Linked DNA regions of Homo sapiens: region 2 is linked to region 1. Evidence: promoter capture Hi-C in 16 types of primary human blood cells and fetal thymus (Javierre and others, 2016). All regions are on one chromosome and are shown on one strand. Each heading gives the region's core, a stretch centred on a gene start or on the middle of the fragment in contact. The rest is flanking DNA. Distances are from core to core; before and after follow the strand shown.

Evidence for each region. Contacts are between HindIII fragments. The CHiCAGO score rates a contact against its expected background, and 5 or more counts as called.
Region 2: a contact is called between the fragment with the promoter of TCTN3 here and the fragment with the promoter of R3HCC1L in region 1, in 2 of 17 cell types (fetal thymus and total CD4 T cells). The highest score is 8.2, in fetal thymus.

What each region holds. Positions count from the first base shown.
Region 1 is chr10:98,133,151-98,136,751 of GRCh38, forward strand. It overlaps R3HCC1L (R3H domain and coiled-coil containing 1 like), which reads left to right and starts at 1,507. Exons shown (of 10, transcript NM_001351015.2): 1 at 1,507-1,556. RefSeq lists enhancers at 1,934-2,723, 2,066-2,205. The HindIII fragment of the contact is 1,235 bases long and covers 1,087-2,321 here.
Region 2 is chr10:95,692,284-95,695,987 of GRCh38, forward strand. It overlaps TCTN3 (tectonic family member 3), which reads right to left and starts at 1,644. Exons shown (of 14, transcript NM_015631.6): 1 at 1,361-1,644; 2 at 1,070-1,193; 3 at 637-755. The coding sequence starts at 1,616. It also overlaps a transcript of ENTPD1 not described here. RefSeq lists enhancers at 1,349-1,628, 2,103-2,604. The HindIII fragment of the contact is 4,584 bases long and covers 375-3,704 here.

The DNA.
Region 1 (3,601 bases), core at 257-2,756:
AACCAAAGGCAGGCAGCCCAGCACCAGGCACCAGACCCAAAACCAGACCTGAAACCAGGCCTGGGCCTGCCTGGCCTAAACCTAGTAGTTAAAAATCAACTCATGACTTAGCATAGATTCCAGGCATTGTATGGAAGAACATTGTACTCTGTTCTGTTTCACTCTGACTACCACTGCATGAAGCCCCTGTCACATACACCCCAGATTGCTCAATCAATCACGACCCTTTCATGTGAAATCTTTAGTGTGGTGAGCCCTTAAAAGGGACAGAAATTGTGCACTCGGGGAGCTTGGATTTTAGGACAGTAGCTTGCCGATGCTCCCAGCTGAATAAAGCCCTTCGTTCTACAACTTGGTGTCTGAGAGGTTTTGTCTGCGGCTCGTCCTGCTACAATAGAATCTCCAAGATTTGGTGACCATTTGAATATTGGAGGAAGAGGAAGTGAGAAAGGAGGAATCAGGTTAAAGAGTGAATATTAATGAGTAGGGAGGAGGGGTAGTAGTTTACTTTTCTTTTTTTGGGGGACGGAGTCTCCCTGTGTTGCCCAGGCTGGAGTGCAGTGGTGCAATTTTGGCTTACTGCAACCTCCGCCTCCCGGGTTCAAGCGATTCTCCTTCAAGCAATTCTCCTGCCTCGGCCTCCTGGGTAGCTGGGATTACAGGTGCCCACCACCACGCACAGCTAATTTCTGTACTTTTAGTAGAGACAGGGTTTCACCATGTTGGTCAGGCTGGTCTCGAACTCCTGACCGCAGGTGATCCACCTGCCTTGGCCTCCCAAAGTGCTGGGATTACAGGCATGAGCCACTGTTCCTGGCCCCAGTAGTTCACTTTTCAAGGACACTGGAGATGCCTGTGGGCATGGATGAGGAGAGGTCTTGTCTAGGAAGTTGGGAATACAAACAATGAGCTCAGGTGAGAAGGGACTGGAGTGTCCCCTCTCCCACCCCAATTTTAAGAACTCTGGAAAACACCAATATTTTAGAGGTAAGTTAGAGGAAACAAAGTAGAATGAATTCAGAGAAGGAAAACCTGGATAGTGTCATAGAAAATAAGTGATAATGCCCAATAGCGTCAAATGACTAAAGCTTGAGTTAGATGAGTCCGGAAATACCTCCAATGAGTTTGGCAACAAGGACACTTATGACAACAAGGCATTTTCCATGGGGGCGGAAGCTGCGATGAGGAGTGAACACAGATGAGCAAGTAGAGACAGTGTAGATTATCTTTTTCAAAAAACTTGGCTGTGAACGGAGGAAGTGAGATGGTATAATTGAGTGGAATGTAAGGAGATTTGCGCACGTATATAGCCGAGAGGAATGAGGAAGGGTTGAAGGGACAGGAGCAGAAATGCTCTCCGGCACTCGCCATTTTGCCAGCTTCTCCCCTACGTGACCTGAACTCAGTGGGCGCGGCCGGGCCTCGCGGAAACTACAACCCCCAGAAGGCCCCACGGCGTTGGGGGCGGAGCCGAGGCCTGACGCGCGCCCCAGCGGCGCGAGCGGAAGAGATAGAGCTTCGCGGAGACGGCGGAAGCGGAGAGCAACAGCGCGCCGGTAACAACCAGCCCCGTATCCCCTCCCTCTGTACCTCAAGCTAGGATTTTTAATCCCCACTTCTCCCTTCACAGCCCGGGACAAGACTTCCATTCCGTCGTTTGTTGCTGGTATTTTTTTTCCTCATGTGACGCGAGGGGCCGCCCCCTGCCTGGGGCGGAGGTTACTGGGAAGCTCCCGCCTTCTGACCCCTGCGGGCCCGCGGTTGAGAGGGACCCTCCCGGGGCTCTTTTGCACTCACTGGGGCTCGTGCTCGCTTTGGGCGCTCGCCCCAAATGATCCTGGCGGAAAGGACGTGCTTTTTCTGGGTTTCAACAGGTATTGAGCGGGGTCCCTGGTTACCCCCTCGGGGCTGCGGGGCCGTGGGCCCCCAGGGCTGCCGGCGGTTTCCGGGCTTCGCTTCGAGCCTCGCCTTTGAGCCTCCTCCGCTGCCCGGGAGCCCCGGGCTACGGGCTGGGAGTGAGCAATCTATAAAGGAGCATGTACTTCCTGCTTTTTCTTGGCAGGCCTGCGAAAAACCCCAAGTCCGATCTTTAAAGTTTGTGAGTGCAGCCCCCTCTCAGTTGTGTACGGGAAGGAGCACAGGATTTGGAGTCTGATATCCTGGGGGAAGTCTCAGTCCGCCACTTGGCTGGACCTGTGATCTTTTGTACAGTAGTCTGTTTAGCGCAGCCTCGGTTTCGTTGTCTGAAAAGTGGGGTTAATGTTCTTTGCCCTGCGGCCTTCCAGGGTTGTGGGCTTCAGCAGAAGTGATATTCCTGCGAAAGCTTTGAACTCTAAAGTATGTTTCGGGTATAACCTTGCCATCCCCCAGTCTCCAGTCTAGGTCAGTTGAGTTTTAAAACCAGGTTCATGTCTATACGAAGATCAAATTAGTTAATAAATAGGGGGAAAGTGTCTTTGGAAACGAATCTGAACCATACAGATGTTTTTATGCCAGGTTCCTAGTGAAGAGGTGACCTTAGGGCGTTACCACCTGTGGAGTCAATTTAAAACTTCATCTGGATTTTAAGGCCCACCAGAATTTAGACTCTTCTTCCTCAGCACACACAACTATCTCTTGCTGTTATAACCTTCCTTCAGTATCACACAGGTACAAGCATAAAGCAGTAAACGTTCCTCAGATATGGTTGTACTACAACTAATACCTGTCCCCAGCAGGTCTTGTGTCTTGTGTCACAGTTGAAATTCAGAATATAAATAGCCAAATATCCCATCTGTTTAATTTTTTTTGACATTAAGCTTTGAGACTAAGCAAGTTGCTTATTGTCTTATTTTTCCCCTTACAGAGAATGCTAATTCTGCAATCAGTTTTTTTTTTTTTTTTGGGTAGAATCAGGATTTCACTATGTCGCCCAGATTGGTCTAACTCCTGGGCTCAAATGATCCTCCCGCCTCGACCTCCCAAAGTGTTGGTATTACAGGCGTTTGACACTGTGCCCACTGTGCCCGACCTCTGCGATTAATTTTTAAAGGGGTAAGAAAGTGTAGTTAGGTATTTTTAGTCTGTGTTTATTCTGAATTTATTGATTGAAGAATACTTGAAAATGGTCCAAAAAACAAGAGAGGATGACAGTAAGTTGCATTAGCTTAGTGTACAAATTCGAGCAAATTTGAGTTCAAGTCCTGGTGCTGTGTCTTACTACAGGTTGGAGTATCCTTATCTGAAATGCTTGGTACCAGAGTGTTTCAAATTTCAGATTTTGGTATATTTGCATATACATAGTTAGATATCTTTGGGATGGGACCCCAATCTAAACATGAAATTGATTTAGGTTTCATATATACCTTATATACATAGCCTAAAGGTAATTTTATATAGTATTTTTAATAATTTAATAATTTGTGTCCAGACGCGGTGCCTCACGCCTGTAATCCTAGCGCTTTGGGAGGCTGAGGCAGGCAGATTGCCTGAGCTCAGGAGTTCAAGACCAGCCTGGGCAACATAATGAAACCCCATCTCTATTAAAAGTACAAAAAATTAACCAGGTGTAGTGGTGCACGCCTGTAGTCCCAGCTACTCGGGAGGCTGAGGCGCGAGAATC
Region 2 (3,704 bases), core at 394-2,893, 2.4 Mb before region 1:
GCCCATGAGGTCAAGAGATCAAGACCATCCTGGCCAACATTGCAAAACCCCGTCTCTACTAAAAATACAAAAATTAGCTGGTCATGGTGGCACACACCCATAGTCCCAGCTACTCGGGAAGCTAAGGCAGGAGAATCACTTTAATCCGGGAGGTGGAGGTTGCAGTGAGCTGAGATCGTGCCACTGCACTGCACTCCTGGCGATAGGTGGAGGCTCCGTCTCAAAAAAAAACAAAAATGCAAATGTATTCCGTAATAAGAGAGAAGAGGCAGAAAGAGGCGTAGAGATTCAAAGGACAAAAAAAAAAAAAGTTTAAAAAAAAGAAATGGAAAAAAGGCCAGAATAAAAGCCAATTCTCAATAAATGTTAGACCAAGCTTGTCCAACCTGCAACCCACCGGCCGCATGCAGCCCAGGACGGCTTATGAATGCAGCCCAACAACACAAATTTGTAAACTTTCTTAAAACATTTGACATTTTTTTTGCTTTTTTTTTGTTGTTGTTTTTAACTCATCAGCTATCGTTAGTGTATTTTACGTGTGGCCCAAGACAATTCTTCTTCCAATGTGGGCCAGGGAAGACAAAATATAACACTCCTGTGTTAGAAAATGAGAACAACCAACATGTTTCTACTCACAGTTGTTCACATGGACACAAAACTGCCTGATTCCATTAGAATCCATGAAAACTCTTGAAGGAAACGGGGAATTACTCCTGAAGATAACAGAGTTGTCTACACAAACCCAGCTTGAAGACCTGTGAGGAAAGAGGAGGGAGAAGATATATTTAGAAGGGGCGGGGCAGGTCCAAAAAAGAGTGTCCCAGCAATATCGGCCAGATGATGCCAAAGAGGACTCCTTGGGCACCTATAGGACGACACGAAGGTCTTATTCTACTGGCCAGCCCTGCTCTAGAGAATCAGAAAAGGCAATTCCTAGGAAAAACCAAGGGAATGTCCTAGGAGTGGAAGTACGGGTGGGAGGCACAAAGACTAACTCTTCTTACATCCAAATGTTACCCGTTGTAGGCCCCAAACCCCTTTAGGATTCAGTCTGAGCAACGAAGCTCACCTTACGCTGCCTGGAAGGCAGAAGGAGAAAACTGTCCTCGGATGGAGAAGATAGCAGTCCCTGTCGCAGCAGCAATTTATATCGCAGGCTCCAGGAGTCAAGTCACAGACACAGATCGGTAAGACTATGAAAGTACGACACAGAGTGAGTGGGATGAAGATCCCCAAACTCTCCCAGGTGCTCACCCTCCTTCTTCCGACAGCCCCACTCCTGCTTTGTGGCAGCTCAACTTTGCTCACAGAATTTTAGATCTCAGAAGTAAGTTTCCACCCCCACAACGTTTTCCCTCACCTGGGAAGAGGTCCACAGTCCTATTCCCAGGGGCCGAGGGAGTCACGAGAGTAGGGACCACTGTAGGGAGTCCAGGCACGGCCGGGCGAGTTGCAGTCGCCTCTGAAGGGGACTGGAGGGTTCCGCCATCCGTCCCTCGCTGCAGCTCCAAAGACGTGGGCACTGCCCCTGATGGGGAGGAAGAGGGCTGAGGCCGGACGCCATCGGGGAACACCAGAAAGAACACTTGCAGGAGCGCGAGCTGTGGGGTGCGCATGGGGCATTCAGGGCCTCCGGGTCCGACGTAGGCCTCCGCGGTCTCCAATCGCATTGCCAGAGCGTGGGTGGGAGGAGTCGCATAGCGTCTGACGCCATCCGCGTGCCTCTTCTCATTGGCTCATGAGAAGGCTGAGAGCTCTTCAACCAATCGAAAGTGGGGTTGTTACAGCTCTTTCAGTGTCCTTCGGTCTGCGCCCTCCTCCTTAACGCGGGCCGGGCCGTGCCTCCGTTGCCTGGCAACCGTCAGTGACGAAGAAGCCCTTGCGCCTTCCTTCCGCTAGGTGGCGGTAGGAGTTCGGCGGACCGAGAGGTTCCGCGCCCACTTCGCGGCCCAGAGGACTGAGCCCGGCCTCCGGTGCAAGGAAACCCCAGAGGCCGGAACTAGAATTGCAAATTTTTTTTCACCCCGGATTCCAACGGTGAGAAACCCTTTCTATGGAAGAATAATGTTCTCAGGTGGGGGAAACACACCTAAGGTCACATACCTTAAAAAACAGTCTCCTCTAAATATGGCTTTTTTAAAAAAAAAAAAAACACATTAGAAATAATGTTCATTCAGCTCCTTACATTTTAACATTGAGAAATTTTGAAAACCCTAAAGAAATGCATCAAATCATTAAAGATGGACTGCATGTTTGTTGTTAGAAAAAGCAGTGAGAGAAAAATAAGAAAAAAGGGCAGGAAAAATGTGAGAAAATAGGGAGAGAAAGAATAAAAAAAAGAAACATTGTCTAGGAGGTGAGAAAATAAGATGGAGGAATGGAAATAGAAGATTTTTTTCCCCGTGTTAATGGCAAATTTTTTAAGCCTCTCTAGGAGGTTTTTGTTCTTCCCGGGAATGGCGTGCCTCTTCCGATTCCCCACAGCAGCGCGGGCCATGGGACTTTCCTTCGGTATTGGAAATGTACCGTAGCTGCACTGTCCAGCATGGTAGTCACCGGCCTTATGTGGCAATTGTGCGCTTGAAATGTGGCTAGCGTGACTGAGGAGCTGATTTTTTTTTTTTTTTTTTTTTTTGAGACGGTGTTTCGCTCTGTCGCTCAGGCTGGAGTGCAGTGGTGTGATCTCAGCTCACTGCAACCTCTGCCTCTAGGATTCAGGTGATTCTTCTGTTTCAGCCTCCTGAGTAGCTGGGATGACAGGCACGCGCCACCACGCCCGGCTAATTTTATTTTTATTTTTAGTAGAGATGGGGTTTCACCATGTTGTCCAGGCTGGTCTCGAATTCCTGACCTCAAGTGACCCTCCCGCCTTGGCCTCCTAAAGTGCTGGGATTACAGCTGTGAGTCGCTGTGCCTGGCCTGAATTTTTAATTTTTAAATTGTAATTAATTCAAAGTTAACCACAGACGTGAGTAGCTACCATATTGTACAGTGGGACTGTAGATGATCAAAATATTGCTCCTCCTAGACCCAGTATTTTCCTATGTCCACGGTTCTGACATCTGGATTATTTTGGATATTTAGTTTTAGTATATAAATTAACATCTGTTAAGAGTTATCTAAAATCTAGTACACTTACCTAAAATCTGGTCAACACCTCCCTTTACAAGTGAATCATTTAACTCAGGTAAGTTTTAGGACATTTGACTTTACTTGAATTCTCTTACAAGATCTTTATTTTCTAATGTTTTGAAGTCAGTAGCTAAAAGTCTCTCTGTGTTATAAATATTTTCAAATATGTTTTTATGTTGTTGTGTGATAGACAGCTATGGGAGATATGTGTTTGGTCTTAAAACATTTATTTACCTTATTAGTAATTTCTATAGGAAAAGGCCAAGTTCATATTATTCAGATTATATGATCATATGTATATACTAGAATGTAAATTCCAAAAATAGTGAGTTTTGTCTGTTTTGTTCATTGAAATATCCCCATGCCTAGAACAGTGTCTGGGACATGTTAGATGTGCATTAAATATTTTAAAAATATATTAAAAATTGTTTTGTTGAACTCTTTAGAATTAATCCTTAGGAATATTTTTAGTTTATTTTATTTCAGGATTGTATTTCTTTCTATAAAATTTCTTCTTTTTGCAACCAATTTACCATGTAATGATCTTTCTATAAAATTTCCATTGTACATCT